Regions from separate parts of the Homo sapiens genome. Here regions 1 and 3 are each linked to region 2. Evidence: promoter capture Hi-C in 16 types of primary human blood cells and fetal thymus (Javierre and others, 2016). All regions are on one chromosome and are shown on one strand. The core of a region is centred on a gene start or on the middle of the fragment in contact, and the rest is flanking DNA. Distances in the headings are between cores, read along the strand shown. Region 1 holds the start of FKBP1B (FKBP prolyl isomerase 1B). Region 2 holds the start of DNAJC27 (DnaJ heat shock protein family (Hsp40) member C27). Region 3 overlaps LOC105374329 (a long non-coding RNA gene).

What was found. Contacts are between HindIII fragments. The CHiCAGO score rates a contact against its expected background, and 5 or more counts as called.
Region 1: the fragment with the promoter of FKBP1B here is called in contact with the fragment with the promoter of DNAJC27 in region 2 in 4 of 17 cell types (neutrophils, fetal thymus, total CD4 T cells and 1 more); the score reaches 8.0 in neutrophils.
Region 3: a contact is called between a fragment that was not itself captured here and the fragment with the promoter of DNAJC27 in region 2, in 7 of 17 cell types (endothelial precursors, megakaryocytes, M1 macrophages and 4 more). The highest score is 12.1, in endothelial precursors.

Annotation. Positions count from the first base shown.
Region 1 is chr2:24,048,303-24,051,002 of GRCh38, forward strand. It overlaps FKBP1B (FKBP prolyl isomerase 1B), which reads left to right and starts at 1,439. Exons shown (of 4, transcript NM_004116.5): 1 at 1,439-1,584. The coding sequence starts at 1,548. RefSeq lists a silencer at 1,301-1,600. The HindIII fragment of the contact is 22,874 bases long and covers 1-2,190 here.
Region 2 is chr2:24,970,581-24,973,306 of GRCh38, forward strand. DNAJC27 (DnaJ heat shock protein family (Hsp40) member C27) reads right to left here and starts at 1,375. Exons shown (of 7, transcript NM_016544.3): 1 at 1,238-1,375. The coding sequence starts at 1,324. It overlaps DNAJC27-AS1 (DNAJC27 antisense RNA 1), which reads left to right and starts at 1,532. Exons shown (of 3, transcript NR_034113.1): 1 at 1,532-1,652. RefSeq lists enhancers at 786-915, 869-1,387, 926-1,035, 1,296-1,405, 1,388-1,906 and 2 more and a silencer at 1,086-1,165. The HindIII fragment of the contact is 9,578 bases long and covers 1-2,575 here.
Region 3 is chr2:24,404,414-24,407,352 of GRCh38, forward strand. It overlaps LOC105374329 (a long non-coding RNA gene), which reads left to right. Exons shown (of 3, transcript XR_001739340.3): 2 at 349-463. Among named protein-coding and RNA genes, the nearest start is that of ITSN2, 45 kb to the left of the region's middle. The HindIII fragment of the contact is 6,674 bases long and covers 1-2,939 here.

The DNA of each region.
Region 1 (2,700 bases), core at 189-2,688, 920 kb before region 2:
CTACTAAAAATTTAAAAATTAGCCGAACGCTGGTGTCTCACGCCTGTAATCCCAGCTACTTGGGAGACTGAGGCACGAGAATCGCTTGAACCTGGGAGGCGGAGGTTGCAGTGAGCCGAGATTGTGCCACTGCACTCCATCCTGGCGACAGAGTGAAGATTCTGTCTCAAAAAAAAAAAAAAAAAAAAGGAGAGAGAGAGAGACGGGATCTCGCTATGTTACCCAGGCTGGTCTTGAACTTCTAGGCTCAAGCAATCCTCCTGCCTCGGTCTCCTACAGTGTTGAGATTACAGGTGTGAGCCATTGTTCCAAAAATTGATATACTTGGCCTCACATCAATTTTTGGAACAATGCAGGTAATAATGAGGGGGAAAAAATTTTAAAAGTCCCAATTACCCTTTAAACAAATATTACCTCCTCCAAAAAATATTTTTCTAGATTCCTGAATGTATTTTTTGGTGGAGGAGGAACTCAAAGTAGAATTCATTTACATATTCATTCATTCATTCCACAGCACTAATCACTCCATGCAGTAACTGTGTGTCCCCGTCCCTCTCAGACTTAGTACCTGGAAGACAGCCAACCTGTCTTAATTCTATTGGTATCCCCAGGGCGCATTTCTTTGCCTTGAAAATTGAGTACCCAATAAATGTGCGTCGAGCAGAACTACACGAGATGGAGAACAGGGGTTTAGGGGTATGGGGGAGAGTCAGCAATTACTGGTGTCCTCCCTCCCTCCCCCAGCTCTGCTCCTACAGATCCAGGACGCCTAGCGAGGGTAGGAACCTCTTCTGTGCTTCCGCAACGCTCTGAACTGCACGGCACTGAGCGCATCTAATTAAAGTGATGGTTTCATTAGATAGCAACACAGCGAGACCCCGTTTCTACAAAAAATAAAAATAAAAAATAAAAGATTAGCTGGGCGTGGTTGCTCGCGCCTCTAGTCCCAGCTACTTGGGTGGAGGCTGAGGAAGAAGGATCGCTTGAGCCTAAGAGTTCGAGGTTGCTGTGAGCTATGATCGCGCCACTGGACTCCAGCCTGGGCGACAGAGCAAGATCCTCTGTCTAAAATAAAAATAAAAATAAAATGATGGTTTAATCGCCGGCCTTTGCCCCTTCTGCCCCCCACCCCCCACAAGTCTGTAGGACTGGGTTGACTTCCCAGAGCTTACTACAGATTAGATGCTAAATAAATGTCTATTGGACGGATGCGCGAATGAATGGATGGATGGAGGATGTGGTTGTGCTTACCACGCTCCCTGGTCAGTGGGTTAATGTCGTCAGGCGGGGCCAGGCTCGCTAACAGCCGGGCGGGGTCCCTTCCCCCGGGCCCCGCCCCGGCCGACCCCACCTTTCCGCGCGGCTCCGCCCCGCCGCCCCCTTGCCAGTGGCCCCTCCCCGCGCAGGTCCCGACTCCAGCCGCACCTCCTCCGGCTCTGCAGTGGCGGCGAGGAGGCGAGCCGGAGCGACGGCGGGGCTGGGGCCGGAGCCGAGCCGGGGTCGGGCAGCAGCAGGGACCCCCCAGAGGCGGGGCCTGTGGGACCGCTATGGGCGTGGAGATCGAGACCATCTCCCCCGGAGACGGTACCGGGCTCCCTCCGGAGCCAGGGGAGGGGAGGGGTCCCGGGGCGGAGCCCGGAGGGCGGGGGTCTGATTCGGAGGTGGCGTGGAGGGTGCTGAAGGGTCGGGGGGCTGGATGGGGAAGGCAGGCGGAGACGCCGGACGGGATTCTTGGGGGTCTAGGAGACCATCCTCCGCCATCCTCTTCCGCGCTCACCTAGGGGAATGTAGGCGGCAGCTCGGAGGCGGGGGTCTGCGGCCCGGAGGCGGGGGTCTGCGGCCCGCCACCGCCCCGGGCTTCTCCTGTCGCGGCTGCAGTCGTTCGGTTATCCGCTGCTGCTGATACCCCAGCCTGGGTTTCGGCTTCGCTTTCCCTGCCCTACTCGGCGAGCTCTGGAAAGCAGGACCTGCTCTCGGATACCCGCTGCTCGGGGACCTCCTCCTAGCGCGTCCCCCGCCGGGCCTCCCCTCGGTCGCTTCCCTGCGGGCCGGGCTGTGAGCGGCTGTGGGGACAGACCCAGGCTGGGGAAGGGGGAAGCGCTCCCTTGCCCGCTTCCGGATCTCGCTTTATCCTGCCGCCGCTTTCAGACTCCCTGGCCACCCTGTCCACTCCCATGGCCTCCACATTGAAGCTTCTAAGCCCAGCCCTGCGACCTACGGCCGAACCTCTCCCTGGACGTCCCAGGGTGCTCCCTGGTCAGCAAGTCCAAAACAGAACTCTCGCTTCCCACCTTCTCTCCTAAGTGATCCTCTTTATCCCCCTTCCGTGTCTCACTTTCCCAAGTCCTTGTATTACTGGGTCTGGGTGTGCAAGGAATAGCCATTTCTTTATTTCTTGAAATTTAATTAATACCAAAGCCCCCATTGTCTGCAGGGTTTGATGGGCAAACTTCATATCAGATATTATTAATATGAACAGCTCCCCTCCCCAGGAAATTGGATAACTTCTTGGCTCCAGGCCATCTTCCTTGTCCAATCCCAGCCACTACTTCAGATATCCCCTGGAGTACAGGCTTCTTTGCCCACGCAGGAAACATTGCTGCTGGGTCCCAGAAAGCATCTCCCTGAGGCCTTTTCATCCCTCAGCAGCCCCTGAGCTAATCTCCCCATCTTCAGTCTCTCCTCCCTGCTTTCAATCTC
Region 2 (2,726 bases), core at 125-2,624:
CGGCCTCCCAAGTAGCTGGGATTAAAGGCGTGCACCACCATGCCTGGCTAATTTTGCATTTTTAGTAGAGACAGGATTTCACTATGCTGGTCTTGAACTCCTGACCTCAAGTGATCCGCCCGCCTCGTCCTCCCAAAGTGCTGATGTATTACAGGCCTGAGCTAGCGTGCCCAGTCCCTAGAAAAAAAAAAACACCTCGTACACAGCTGACGTTCAAAAAAATGTTGACTTTCAGTGAATACTATGCTAGCACATACACACAAAAGTAGTACGGGATCATGCTACACAGAAATAAAAAACACTAAGTAAACATTTACTGAGCATCTCCTGGGTGCCAGGCACTGGACTAGGCACTGCCTTAACAGCTCTTTCGGAGTTGATTTTGAACGCATACAACGACGGAAAGAGCACCGCAGTGGGAATGTGAAGACTTAGGTTCTAATCTTTCCTCGGTCACTGATTTGATGACCTTGGGAAGTTCTTAACCAACAGATTCCACTTGCCCAAAAGGAAAGAATTTGAGTGAAGAGGAGGCCGTCTTGGAATTCATAAGGGAAAAGGCCTCAGGTTACCTCTGGCCTTCCCTCCCCACGTACTAAAGGAGAGTTTATAGCTGATGAACCACAGATGGGGCAGAGAGAAGGGCGGTGGAACTAACAGATATGGGGACACCACCAAAAATAAAACACAACGCAAAACAAAACAGCGCGGACCCCGGCCATCCCTTGCACCTCCCCTGTGAAACACGTCAACGTCAGTTACGCTCTCTCGTGACGGGAATGCAGAATCTGGGCTGCCGGGCACCATTTCGCGAACCCCAAATTCTCACACGCACCCCATAACGTTCCGCCGGCTCCCAGGCCCGGCTGGGGGAACTAAACTTTCATCCTCCATCTCCCGGTCCCGGACGGCCCCCTAGAACGCGGGCAAGGTATCTAGGCCGACGGCCCCTCATGGGGACCCAGGCCTTCTTACTCTTTTGGGGGTACATTCAAGGCTTAGAGGCCACCCCAGACACCATCTCCGGAAGAGTGACGTCGGAGGACGAGGGGGCAACGGAAAGGTCAAAAAGGTCGGGGAGTTTCGTTCGCGGAGCCGCACCCCTCGGCTGAGACCCGGGCCTGCTCGGGGGCGGAGAGGAGGCCGGGCCCCAGGCTGTTGAGTGGCCGCCCTTCCAGCCAATGGACACGTCGCCCCGCCACGCTGGGGCCCGCCCCTCCCGGCTCGCTGTACTCACTTTCCCCACTTCGGCGTTGCCCATGGAGATGACTTTGATGCGGAGAGACCTGCCGGGCTCCTTCCGCTTCGGCATGTTGGCCTCCATGGCCCTGGCTCTCTCGGGGCCACCCGCCTCGGTCTCTTCTTGTGCACCGCTGGCCCGTCCCTCAGGCCTCCTCGTCCAATGGCGGAGCCGCTGCTCTCGTCACCGCCTCGCCTCCGCTGCTCGCCATCCCCGCCGCTGCCTGGCAGCAGGCGCGGGCGGTTGGGAGCGTGGGGAGCCGGGGGAGGGAGACGGGAGTCTCGCGATGCTAGCGCGGGGCTGCTGACGTCATCTGCAGGCCCTGGAGACGCGACTGCAGTTACCGAGTTTCTAAGGCCTCGTCCCCTGACGGGAAGGCGGCGTTGGGGGGCGGCTGGGTTTACCCTTCGAGGTGAGCGCGTCCTTGTTTTCAGGGACGCCCGGACGGGAGGCGTTTGTTGCTTTCGCAGCCGAGTGGTGGAAATGTATTGGCTCTTCAGGGCGGGTCTGGTAGTGTCTCGTCCGTTTGGGAGTGTTTTTTTTTTTTTCTGGATTCTTTTTCGGTTCCATGGGCCGGGCTGCTGCTCCTCTTCCCCCTCCAATATTTTGTTCCCCTTGCTCGAGATCCCCGAGAGGCAGACCCCAAAGCCAGGAAAGTGGGGAGGTCGGAACCCTGGTTCTGGAAGAGGGCCTTGGGCAAGGCGTGAAGCGATTCTGAATCTGGTTCCTATTGTTTTTTATTTTAAATGGAGTTGTCTATTTGGAGTCAAGGCAAGAGTGTTTAGTCTTGGCCCTCCTATTACAGATCTCTGATGGATTTGTTGACTCCTCTGTGGGAGAAAGGCTTGGTCTACTGCAGGTGTTAACGCTAAGCCAGGCTGGAGCTGTGGACGTCAGTTTCCTCAGCTCCCCGCTGTTCGCTTCGAACGTGACCTCGACGTCTGCTCTCCCCTTCCCTTTAGCTGACAATGTGACAGTGCTTGAATAAAAGTCAGTCTGACAGGAACGGTAATTTTTTTTCAGTGAATATCTTCAGTTACAGAAGATAAATAGAACTTGACAATGATTATTTATAGTGCCCTGAAAAAAAATGGCTGCCAATTTCCCTGTATATTACAAAGACAAAAGTAGCATTGCTTCTTTTCTCACCTAACTTTAAACATCTTAAGGGAAGTGCATTACAGGAAGGCAATGAGCAAAGGCTCAACATTTCACAGTAAAGTCAGATTTTCCACATTTTAATTTTAAAATGTGTTTTTTAAACATTAAGTTTTTTTTAAGACAAGTTTATTCTGGATTGTTTTGATAATCAAATAATATAACTTAATTCACTGAAGCTTCTAAAATTATTTACAAATATGAAATATAAGTCCTGGTTAGAATTTGGATAGTTTTAAAGCTTAAAAGAATCCACATGCTAACTTCTCAGTATGATTTAATAAATCAAATTACTAAACATGTAATTTCTTCGACAGTTCACCTTTGG
Region 3 (2,939 bases), core at 194-2,693, 570 kb before region 2:
TTAACTGCTGTAGCGGGGAGAGAGCAGAGGGTCTGCTTCTTCAAATACTGGCGATCACACCATGGTTTTATATTGTTTTGGAAATAACTTTTAGTTGAAAAACTTCGAGGAGTTCATTGTAAGTTCAATTACAGCTGGAGGGATATAATTTATTGTAATTTATTAGTCATTGAATATCCATGTGCTCCCAAGACTCCCCAGCTCCCTTGCAGTTAGGAGGGCCTATGCGACTCGTTTTGACAAATGAGCCGTGAGTGGAAATGACATGTGTCACTTCTGGGACAAAGCACAAAGAGAAGAGCACTTTATCATTCTTGATTCCTCTCTCTTTTCTTGCCGCAATGACAGCCGAGGCCAAATGTGGAGATGGCATAACCAGAAGAGGGAACGAACTGGCCTGGATGTGACTCATGCTTGGAAGGGAGCTGTCTGGAAGGACCACAGTACCTGCAGCCAACTTTGTGTGAGTGGAAAATAAATAGGTTAAAGCAATACAATTGGGGGATTGTTATTGTAACATAACGTAGTCTATTCCTGGTTAATGCATTAACAATGCCCTCTCTTAACAGTAGCCGCTTTTTAAACTTCCCCCACTTACGTAAAACATAGTTTATAATATCTAACATTCATACTAATTTAAAAGTTTAATATTCACACAGGGAAGACATCTCTTGTTTAAAAATGTTGATGGCAAGGGAATTATTTATTTATTTGTTTAGAGACAGAGTCTCACTATGTTGCCCAGGCTGGACTCAAACTCCTGGATTCAAGTGATTCTCCTGTTCAGCCTCCTGAATAGCTGGTACTATAGGTACATGTCACCATACCCAGCAGAATCATAATTTTTTCTTTTTCTTGAGACAGAGTCTTGCTCTGTCACCCAGGCTGGAGTGCAGTGGTACCATCTCAGCTCACTGTAATCTCCACCTCCTGGGTTCAAGCGATTCTCCTGCCTCAGCCTCCCGAGTAGCTGGGACTACAGGTGCATGACACCACACCTGGCTAATTGTCGTTTGTTTGTTTTTGAGATAGAGTCTCGGTCTGTCGCCCAGGCTGGAGTGCAGTGGTGCAATCTCGGCTCACTGCAACCTCCGCCTCCTGGGTTCAAGCAATTCTCTGCTTCAGCCTCCTGAGTAGCTGGGATTACAGGCCCCCGCCACCATGGCCAGCTAATTTTTTGTATTTTTACTAGAGACGGGGTTTCACCATCTTGGCCAGGCTGGTCTTGAACTGACCTTGTGATCCACCCCCCTTGGCCTCCCAAAATGCTGGGATTAGAGATGTGAGTCACCACGCCGGGCCTAATTTTTGTATTTTTAGCAGAGATGGGGTTTCGCCATTTTGGCCAGGCTGGTCTCAAACTCCTGACCTCAAATGATCTGCCTGCCTTGGCCTCCCAAAGTGGTAGGATTACAGGTGTGAGCCACCGCGCCCAGCCTGTGTGGTGGCATATGCCTGTGATTCCAGCTACTTGGGAGGCTGAGGTGGGAGAATTGCTTGAACCCAGGAGGCGGAGGTTAGTGAGCTGAGACCAAGCCACTGCACTCCAGCCTGGGCGATAGAGTGAGACCCTGTCTCAAAAATAAATAAATAAATACAAATAATTAAAATTAATTTGTAAGAGTTCTTTAAAGTTCTTTCTCAAGAATATTTGATATAACTATAATTTTCCATTCCATGGCTTACCTTTCTACCTTCTTCATGGTGTTTTGTGATGGACAGAAGTTATTAATTTAATTAATTAATTTTTTTTTGAGATGGAGTCTTGCTCTGTCGCCCAGGCTGGAGTGCAGTGATGCGATCTTGGCTCACTGCAACCTCCACCTCCCGGGTTCAAGCAATTTTCCTACCTCAGCCTCCCAAGTAGCTGGGATTACAGGCAAGTGCCACCATGCCTGGCTAATTTTATTTTGTATTTTTAGTAGAGACGGGGTCTCACCGTGTTAGCCAGGATGGTGTCCATTTCCTAACCTCGTGATCTGCCTGCCTAGGCCTCCCAAAGGGCTGAGATTACAGGCGTGAGCCACCGGGCCAAGCCAAAGTTATTAATTTTAATGTGGCTTAATTTATCATTTTCTTTATAGTTAGTGGATTTTTTTTTCCTACTTGAGAAGAAAGTTCCTCTGGTCACTCTTTAATAACACAAGTATTTTTTCCTCATTAGTTTAAAAATCCAAATTTAACCGTATAATATTGAACAGATCTTGGCAGCCTAACCAATAGCCATGACCGACTTTTTCCCTGTTAACAAAGCAGAATTGATGGAAGAAGGGATTAGGAGAAATGTATACCCTGAAAACATAGTGTTTGGCCAAAGGCACCCCACACTTGATGCACTGAATCAGAATTCTTGGATTGGAACTTAGATGTGTGTAATTTTTGTTTTGTTTTGTTTGTTTTTGAGACAGAGTCTTGCTCTGTCGCCCAGGCTGGAGTGCAGTGGCTTGATCTCTGCTCACTACATCCTCCGCCTCCCGGGTTCAGGAGATTCTCCTGCCTCAGCCTTCTGAGCAGCTGGGATTACAGGCGCACACCACCATGCCCAGCTAATTTTTTTTGTTTTTAGTAGAGACGGGGTTTCAGCATGTTGGTCAGGCTGGTCTCAAACTCCTGACCTCGTGATCCACCCGCCTCGGCCTCCCAAAGTGTTGGGGTTACAGGCCACTGTGCCTGGCCAGTTTTTGTATTTTTAATAGTGATGGGGTTTTACCATGTTGGTCAGGCTGGTCTCGGACTCCTGACCTCAGGTGATCCTCCCACCTCAGCCTCCCAAAGTGCTAGGATTACAGGCATGAGCCACCATGCCCAGCCAGATGTGTGTAATTTTTAAATGTTCCCCAGATGATTCAGTTATACCTTTTATTTTAATTTAATTAATTTTTTGTTTTTGAGACGGGTCTCACTCTGTAGCCCAGGCTAGAGTGCAGTGGTGTGATCAT